2 separate regions of the Homo sapiens genome follow, and region 2 is linked to region 1. The links are contacts of gene promoters, found by promoter capture Hi-C in human tissues and cell types (Jung and others, 2019). All regions are on one chromosome and are shown on one strand. Each heading gives the region's core, a stretch centred on a gene start or on the middle of the fragment in contact. The rest is flanking DNA. Distances are from core to core; before and after follow the strand shown. Region 1 holds the start of OSBP2 (oxysterol binding protein 2). Region 2 holds the start of PIK3IP1 (phosphoinositide-3-kinase interacting protein 1).

What was found. Contacts are between HindIII fragments. The study calls those that stand out against the background at their distance.
Region 2: the fragment with the promoter of PIK3IP1 here is called in contact with the fragment with the promoter of OSBP2 in region 1 in 1 of the 25 tissues and cell types used here (dorsolateral prefrontal cortex).

The regions. Positions count from the first base shown.
Region 1 is chr22:30,692,175-30,696,858 of GRCh38, forward strand. OSBP2 (oxysterol binding protein 2) reads left to right here and starts at 2,700. Exons shown (of 14, transcript NM_030758.4): 1 at 2,700-3,379. The coding sequence starts at 2,736. RefSeq lists silencers at 2,373-2,452, 2,837-2,886. The HindIII fragment of the contact is 4,458 bases long and covers 425-4,684 here.
Region 2 is chr22:31,290,300-31,294,983 of GRCh38, forward strand. It overlaps PIK3IP1 (phosphoinositide-3-kinase interacting protein 1), which reads right to left and starts at 2,189. Exons shown (of 6, transcript NM_052880.5): 1 at 1,976-2,189; 2 at 881-997; 3 at 666-785. The coding sequence starts at 2,045. It overlaps LOC105372997 (a long non-coding RNA gene), which reads right to left. Exons shown (of 4, transcript XR_001755493.3): 3 at 3,431-3,522; 4 at 2,645-2,853. RefSeq lists enhancers at 182-381, 1,522-1,571 and silencers at 432-661, 842-961. The HindIII fragment of the contact is 5,590 bases long and covers 1-4,584 here.

The DNA of each region.
Region 1 (4,684 bases), core at 1,450-3,949:
ATCCCAGCTGCTCGGGAGGCTGAGGCACAAGAATCGCTTGAACCCAGGAGGCAGAGGTTGCAGTGAGCCGAGATTGTGCCACTGCATGCCAGCCTGGGCAACAGAGCAAGACTCCATCTCAAAGTAAATGAATAAATAATAAAATGCATGTTCCTGGCTGGACGAGGTGGCTCACACCTGTAATCCCAACACCTTGGGAGGCCAAGACAGGAGGATTCCCTGAGCCAGGATTTCAAGACCAGTCTGGGCAACATAGGGAGACTCCATCTCTACAAAAAAAAATTTTTTTAATTAGCTGGGTGTGGTGGCACATGCCTGTAGTCCCATCTAATCTGGAGGCCGAGGTGGGAGGACCACTTGACCCCTGAAGGCCAAGGCTGCAGTGAGCCATGATTGCATCACTGCACTCCAGACTAGGTGACAGAGTAAGACACTGTCTCAAGAAAAGAAAAAGAAAAAAAAAAAAAAAGCATGTTCTTGGATTCCACCTCTGACTTACTGGGGATGGAGAAGTGAATTTCTTTTTCTTTTTTTTACTAAGATGGAGTCTCTCACTGTCGCCCGTGCTGGAGTGCAATGTTGCGATCTCGGCTCACTGCAACCTCTGCCTCCTGGGTTCACGCAATTCTCTTGCCTTGGCCTCCCGAGTAGCTGGGATTACAGGCACACACCACCACACCCGGCTAATTTTTTTAATTTTTAGTAGAGACAGGGTTTCATTATGTTGGCCAGACTGGTCTCCTGACCTCGTGATCTGCCTGCCTCGGCCTCCCAAGGTGCTGGGATTACAGGCATGAGCCACCGTGCCCAGCTCTGGAAAAGTGTGTTTCTAATAAACCTCCCTGGGGTGATTTTAACAATTATCATCATTATTTTGAATCGGTGAAACATACACACAGTGAAACATACACAGTAAAACATACAAAAGGTTCAAAGTGTGAGTGAAAAGCAAGCATTCCACCTCATTTCTCAGTTGTCCAGTTCTGTCCCCCACTACACCCCAGAGGCAATCACTTTTCCTTGGGGGGACTCACCATGCTGAAGTTTGAGGGTCACCGTCATACATATGAGATAGACCAAGATGGGGGGCTCTCTGCACTCCAGAGCTCACAGCAAAATTGCAGGTAAGACCACCATTCAAAGACAAGTGCCTGAGGAAGGGGTCTCAAAGTCACCAGCAAAGATGCCAGCGGCTCCTGCTCAGTGCATGTCTGCACCTCCTATTTCTAGGACCTTCCAATCTGCTTCCTTCTGGGGACCACTTCACGTAGGAAGCAGTCCCTACACAGGTTATCTTGTCACAAGCAAAGATCAGGAATGGATAGGTGGGTAAGGGGAGAGTAAGACGTGATGGTGAGCTAAGAGGAGTCTGCAGAGAGGTCTAAGCTTGAAAAGTCTGGACAGAAACCCAATGTTCAGTCTTTCCATTTGTATTTCTGATTATTTGTAGTAACCATCAACTTTCGTCATTTGGATAGATTCTTAAGAAAAAAAAAAAATCACTGATGGCTGGGCACAGTGGCTCACGCCTGTAATCCTAGCACTTTGGGAGGCCGAGGCGGGAGGATCCTGGCCTGAGGTCAGGAGTTCAAGACCAGCCTGACCAACATGGTGAAACCCCGTTTCTACTAAAAATACAAAATTTAGCTGGGCATGGTGCGGGCCGTGGAATTCCAGCTACTAGGGAGGCCAAGGCAGGAGAATCGCTTGAACCTGGGAAGCGGAGGCTGCAGTGAACCAAGATCACGCCACTGCATTCCAGCCTGGGCTACCGAGTGAGACTCAGTCTCAAAAAGGAAAAAAAAAAAAAGCGGAAAAAAAAATTCGCTGATGTTTTAACCATTCTGGGGTCACAGCCTCCTTTGTTATGGACCTACTCTGGAAAAATGCACAGACAGGTAAACCTCTGCGGAAGCCTCACAGACTGCCAGCCTACCCAGGGATCCCGGGAGGTCCAAGTTCAGAATCCCACTTTGAGATGTTTCTTGTACTAAAACGCTTGGTTTACAAAAAGTCTTCCCCTATTTGTTTAGAGAACCCGAACGATGTCGTCACTGGCAGCGAAGCGCCTTGGCATGAACCGTAGGCCAGCTGGCTCAGGAGGTGGAGGCGGTGAGGCGGCCACTTGGGGCCACCGCTTCTGGCGGCCGCAGGAGCGACCCACAGACAGGTAATGGCTGCCATGGGGGGCGGGGCGTCGTCTTTAGCCTTTAGCGCCCCTGTGCTTCGTGCGCATTTCGTGGCCTCTGGGTGCCGTACCTGCTTCCCACCCGGCTTTCCTGGGTGGCGGAGAGCGAACCCACCCCAGCCTGGGTTGGGGGAGGGGGCGTCGGCGCAGGGTCCCGTGGGCAGAGCTGCGCTGGGAGCTGGCGGGCTCCGCATTCATCATTGTTCCTCCAGCGCCTGGCACGGCTGGGCCGAAGCAGAGACCGTGGCCTGAAGCGCGCCATCCCCTTCGGAGTTGACCGACCACCAAGCTCTTCCGCCCACAGGTGTTGTCAGAGCTCCTTCCACCGGCCGGACCTAGGAAGGACCCAGGGTCCAAACATGGCCCGAGGCTGGCCGAGAGCACAACAGCCGGCGGGCGCTGACGGGCACGGAGCGCACGGGACCGCGGAGGAACCCGCGCGCGCCCCCGCCTCGCGCCGCGCGCACGTGACTGCGCCCCCGGCCCCGCCCCCGGCCTGCCCCCCGCCCCCACTGGCCGCTCGGCCGCGCGCGGGTCGGCCGGCTCTATGGGGAAAGCGGCGGCTCCGAGCCGAGGCGGCGGCTGTGGCGGCCGCTCCCGCGGGCTCTCGTCGCTGTTCACGGTTGTCCCCTGCCTGTCGTGCCACACGGCGGCGCCGGGCATGAGCGCTTCCACGTCCGGCTCCGGGCCGGAGCCCAAGCCCCAGCCCCAGCCCGTGCCCGAACCGGAGCGGGGACCGCTGTCAGAACAGGTGTCGGAGGCAGTTTCGGAGGCAGTGCCAAGATCGGAACCTGTGTCCGAGACGACGTCTGAGCCGGAGCCAGGGGCTGGGCAGCCATCGGAACTGCTGCAGGGGTCGCGGCCGGGGTCAGAGTCAAGCTCAGGTGTAGGGGCTGGGCCCTTCACTAAGGCCGCATCGGAGCCGCTCTCCCGGGCGGTGGGGAGCGCGACCTTTCTCAGACCCGAGTCAGGATCGCTGCCAGCGTTAAAGCCCCTGCCTCTTCTGCGACCAGGACAGGCGAAGACTCCTCTTGGGGTTCCAATGTCGGGGACTGGCACGACCTCCAGTGCCCCACTGGCCTTACTGCCTCTGGACAGCTTCGAGGGCTGGCTTCTCAAGTGGACCAACTATCTGAAGGGCTACCAGCGCCGCTGGTTCGTGCTGGGCAATGGTTTGCTCTCTTACTACAGGTATGGAAGCGCCAGGGTGGGACATGGGGGTTGGAGGGTGGTGATGCTGCAGGGATGGTGATGGAGGGCCTCCATGGTTGGCGGACACTGCCACTAGTCTAGAGATGTTTAGGGGCATGCATTCCAGCAGGCCAAGTCACGCTTCTGGCCCGCCGCCAAGGGCCGGGGGCCCTGACCTCTGGCAAGGGTGAATGTGATCTGCGGACATGACCTCTGGCAAGCTTGGGTTTTTGGGCAAGTGGGGAGGTGGAGTAAGGGAGTGATCTGGGGCCTCAGTTCCCTTCTGCTTGGCAGTTGTGGGGCTTGGGGCAGCTAGCTAGAGTCAGCCCCTCAAAGTCCTTGCCCTTTCTGGTTCGGGAGCTAACATCATTGTGTGTTTGGGATTGAGGGAGAGAGTCACCTTGTTCAGTCCTTAGGACCCACACTCTTAGGAAGGGCTGCTTATTCTTCCCGCCTGGGGCAGTTACTCCCACCTTTCCTGATGCCTCTGGTTGCCAGGCCTTGGGCTGGGCACCACAGACTCACAGATGTATTGGACACGGTTCTTGGCCTTCAGGAGTCCATCTTGGCATTTTGCGGAGAGCTAGGAAGTGTTTTGCTGCCCTCCTTTCTTATTCCAGACCCAGCACGGGATTCAAAATTAAAGTCCAGTGGTGAGAGAGCTAACACTGTCTTCCCACTGAAACTGGTTGAAAGGAGGTTACTGAAGCCTCCCTTTGCTTTCTTACTGGCTCTTCCCTGGGTCTGCTTCCTGGGGATGGTTGGTTTAAGCCTTGAGAACTCAGATCAGTCTATGCCAGTGGTTCTCAAACCTGAGTGTGCATCAGCATTCCCTGAAGAGCTTGTTGGAACACAAAGTGCTGGGCCTCCCCAATGAATTTCTGTTACAGTGGGCCTAGGGGAAGGGCCTGAGATTCGGATTTTCTAATAACTTCCCAGGCGTGGCTGGTGATGCTGGTCCAGGACCACACTCTGAGAAGCACTGTTTCATTGCTGCACACAAAAGGACCTTGACTTGCTGTTGCTGAAATTCAGGTCACTTCACTCACTTCATTCAGCCAACAGTATCCCTTCAAGTCACCCACTACAGGGTTTTGTTTTTTGTTGTTTTTGTTTTTGAGACGGAGTATTGCTCTGTCGCCCAGGCTGGAGTGCAGTGGTGCAATCTTGGCTCACTGCAACCTCCGCCCCCCAGGTTCAAGCAATTCTTCTGCCTCAGCCTCCTGAGTAGTTGGGATTACAGGCGCCCGTCACCATGCCCGGCTAATTTTTTTTTTGTATTTTTAGTAGAGATGGGGTTTCACC
Region 2 (4,684 bases), core at 939-3,438, 600 kb after region 1:
AATCACTGTAACGCGGAAGGCGGAAGTTGCAGTGAGCCGAAATTGCGCCACTGCACTCCAGCCTGGGTGACAGAACGAGACTCCGTCTCAAAAAATAAAAAATAAAAAATAAATGCTTTATTTTGATTATCCCATTTAAACCTAGAAAACTCTCTTGCTGCTTTGGGAGCAAAAAGCCTGCGCTCTGGAATCTAAGAAACGTGAATTCAAATCTGTCCCCTGCCATTGCCTTTGGTAAATCGCTTAACTTCTCTGAAGCTCAGATGCCTCAAACGACTTCTTCCCGCGGTGTGTGTCAGGGGAGGTTGGGGAGCTGGGGTTGTGAGCAGTGTGGGTCTAGCACACTGCAGACGCTCCGCAAACGGTCAATAAACGCTGAGGGGCCAAAAGCCACTCCTCAGGACGCGCGGCGGAGAGACCTAGCCTCACCCCAGCCTCGCCCCGCGCAGTTGTTTACAAGCGCTCGCGGCGGATGAGCTCATACGAGTGGCGGCGGCGGCCAATAGGCTTTGAGCCCCGCGGCCTGGAGACAGCCCTGGCCAATCGGACGGCGCGGAGGCGGAGCGGGGCCGGCCGGCATCGCGCGGCCGCACGTGCGCCACGAGTGTCTCAGCCGCTTCCTGTCAGCGCCAGGAGCGGGGATTCCCGGGGTCCCGGGCAGGTACCTGGACAGCGCAGGTCCTCGCAAGGCCGTTTCTCAGGGACGCCGGCCTCGCCACTGACGTAGCACCAGGGCCCGCGCGGGTCCTCGTCCGGGTTTCGGCAGTAACTGTGATTGCCGGCCCCTAAGAGAGGAGAGAAGGAAATGTGTGCCGGGGCTGGCACCGGGAACGCGGCCGCCGCCCGCCAGCCCCGGGGCCGTCCCCCGGAGGACACTTACCCGACACGGGGGCCGAGGCCAGCCCGCTCTGCGCGTCCAGCCAGTTGAGGCAGCGGAGGCCCGGCGCGGGGGAGGTCTGGTCCTCCCGGTACAGGTGGCCGTTGTCCCAGAAACAGCCTGTGAGGAAAAGAAGCCCCCGGACACAGAATAGCGGGCAGCGAACGGAAGACGCCCAGCGTGGCGGACAGGGGAGCCGGGACCACCCGGGCTGAACCTCAGCCTGGTTAGGGGACCCCGGGCCCTGCTGGGCCTCCCTCTCCTCTCGTGGCAACACCCCCACGCCCCACGCACCCCCCCCCCCCAACTCCACGCACACCTCAGGGTGTGAAGCCCCCAGCCTGTGCCTGTCCCCCAGTCAACGCTCAGAGACTGTTAGGTTTTATTTATTTTTGAAACCTGGAAAGCGCTGCAGAAGTGCAAAGCGTTGTTACTCTTGAACTTGTGACCACTTTGGAGGAGGAGATGGAGAGGAGGAGGCCTGGCTTAGGGTCCCTTTGAGGAGCTGGGAGTTTTGGGACGGGGGGCGCCCAGACGTGACATTTGTCCCTGTGTTGTAATGGCCACGTTACATAAACTCCGGTGTTTCCTCCTTCACGGATACGGCCACCTTCTGCCCGTTTAAAAGGCAAATACTCCCTCCCAGGAGAATTCTCCAGGAGCCTTGACTCCGTCAGGCAAAAGATTCAAGACAGCCTCAAACGGAGGAAACCGGCCTCATCGCTGACTGGATGAGACTCCAAGCTCCCACTCCCCTCTGCAGGAGAACCACAGAAGGAGGCTGGGGAAGGAGGACCACACCATGCAAAGGGCTTAGAAAGAACAGGACTTGGGGAGTAGGGGAGATGAACCCCCAAGCTCCATCCACTCATGAGCAAGGAAAGGCAGAGAGAAAGTGGCTTCTTGCCTTTGTTCTTAATGGCAAAGATGGAGCTGCAAGCCCCTGACAAGGAAAGGAGGGGTGGAAAAGCTTTCACGGGACAACAGAAACCGGCTAAACGCTTCGTTTCCTGTCATCCTGGCCCTGTTTGGGAAATAGGGGGCTTTACCCCTTCTGTTTCATGAAGTTGCTGCGGAAAGGAAAGATTGTAATCTCACCTCCAGATCCATAGGCTTCTGCTAGGAGCATGTTGCTGACGAGGAATGCTTGTACCCAGGCCAACAGCATCCTTGCCTCCTTCGTCTTGCAGGTGATTGAACGACCAGTGTTTAACCGAGGCCCCCTTGGCGGCGGCTCTGCCTCCCAGTCCCAGCCTTGCAGTCAGACCTGCCCTTGTTATGCTGTTCTGGTAAACAGCCTCTCTTTAGAACTGGGAGCTTCCCAGCTAGCTTGCTGCAGCGCGAGCTGTTTTTCAGCTGAAAGGCGCCCCCTGGGTCCTAAGCCTCCTAGGTCATGCAAAATCTAACTGAGCCAAGAAAGGAACTCAGCCAAGAGATATGCAGGTTGTGCTTAGCAGCCGATCAGTTTGAGACCTGCGAGGCCGCATCCCCAGGGTTTTTCATCTCTTCTGTTTCCATTTGTGTGAGTACAGAAAAAATAATTCTATCAAGGGGCATCATGGGATGTGGGAAATTATAAGCACTAAAACACAGAACAACTTAGGGAGCTATGCACCCAGGAGGAATTCATGACCACATAGGGGGGAAAAAATAAGAGTTTCTGGTGGGGAGTGGAGTAATAGTTTTTTTTTTTTTCTTTTCTTTTCTTTTTGAGACAGAGTTTCACACTGTCGCCCGGGCTGGAGTGCAATGGCACAATCTCGGCTCACTGCAACCACCTGCCGGGTTCTCGCAATTCTGCCTCAGTCTCCGGAGTAGCTGGATTTTTTTTTTCCCTCACTCTATAGGAAATCCATTTGCTGTAATTTATATCCATCATTAAATCTCACCATATCCATTTGACTTAGGCCTTTTGGAGTTAGGCAGAAGGGCCCTTCTTCCTGTTTGGCTGACAGCTCCCAGGCAGCCTCAGTAAACTGAGAGAGAGAGCAGAGTGATTCGTCAAGACTACCTTGTGACAGGGGCACACCACCACAACCCAGCTAATTTTTTGTATTTTTAATAGAGACGGGGGTTTCACTGTGTTGGCCAGACTGGTCTTGAACTCCTGACCTCGTAATCCACCTGCCTCGGCCTCCCAAAGTGTTGGAATTACAGGTGTGAGCCACCGCGTTCGGCCGAGTAACACTTTATACCCATCCTTGAAAAAGAAAAAGGGCCTTTATGAACACTGACACTTAAAAAAAAAAAAAAAAAAAAAAAAAAAAAAAAACAGTGTAACTTGGCCAGGGTCAAATCTGTCACATTGCTTTTTCTTACATTTGAGGTTTTTTGGGGTGTTGTATATAGTAGGACTATAGAAGGAGTATCTTTAGTTGAAAACACATGTTATGCAAACATGGAAAAATTTGCTCAGCTACATTGTAATAGTCTACCCTTTCTGCCAGCCCTAAATTGTATAGAGGAATTTAAGTAAAATGTTTGCTTTTTTTTTTTTCCCTCACCCTATAGGAAATCCATTTGCTGTAATTTATATCCATCATTAAATCTCACCATATCCATTTGACTGAGGCCTTTTGGAGTAGGCAGAAGGGCCCTTCTTCCTGTTTGGCTGACAGCTCAAGTTCCCAGGCAGCCTCAGTAAACTGAGAGATAGAGCAGAGTGATTCGTCAAGACTACCTTGTGACTCAGTCAGATCCCAAAATAGAAATGGGGAAACTCTGTTTCAATCTTGCAGGCTGTAATTTAAGGAGGAAAACAACTAATTTTTTTTTGGGTGGGGGGGACAGAGTCTCTGTCTCCCAGGCTGGAGTGCAGTGGCACCATCTCGGCTTACTGCAACCTCCACCTCCCAGGTTCAAGCAATTCTCCTGCCTCAGCCTCCCAAGTAGCTGGGATTAAAGGTGTGCGCCACCACGCCTGGCTAAATTTTTTTTTGTATTTTTTTAGTAGAGATGGGGTTTCACCATGTTGGCCAGGCTGGTCTCAAACTCCTGACCTCAGGTGATCCACCCACCTTGGCCTCCCAAAGTTCTGGGATTACAGGTGTGAGCCACCATGCCTGGCCACTTTACTAAATAAATTTTAAAAGCTTTATCAGGGAAGAAAACTAGTGTCAATTCAACTAATCTGAGGTGAATCTGAATTCACTACACTCATAGAAAGGATAGAGAGATACATTTAATTCACTCTTTAAAATAGTTTACTGATAATGTTTGATCCCTTTCGTCCATTTAATAAGATAGATTGCTTTGTTTTTGCAATCACTCTCCTATCTCCCCACCCAAGCTTCTGATCCTCTGACTCTTGACTTGGTCTACCCTGTGAATTACACCCTAGAGTCTGTAAATTTATTCACACATATTCATACACAGATACGGTAGCATTTTAAAATTTGGCCAGGTATAGTGGCTCACACTTGTAAATCCCAGCACTTGGGAGGCCAAGGTGGGAGGATGAGCCCAGGAGTTTGAGACCAGCCTGGGCAACATAATAAGACCCTCATCTCTACAAAAAAAAAAAAATAGGTAGGTGTGGTGGCACTCATCTGTAGTCCCACCTACTGAGGTGGGAGGATCATTTGAGTTCAGGAGTTGGAGGCTGCAGTGACCTGTGATCATGCCACTGCACTCCAGCTTGGGCAACAAAGAGAGACCCTGTCTTAAAAAAAAAATTTATTTTTTTTGAGACAGAGTCTTGCTCTGTTGCCCAGGCTGGAATGCAGTGGCGCCATCTCGGCTCGCTGCAAGCTCCGCCTCCTGGGTTCACGCCATTCTGCCTCAGCCTCCCGAGTAGCTGGGACTACA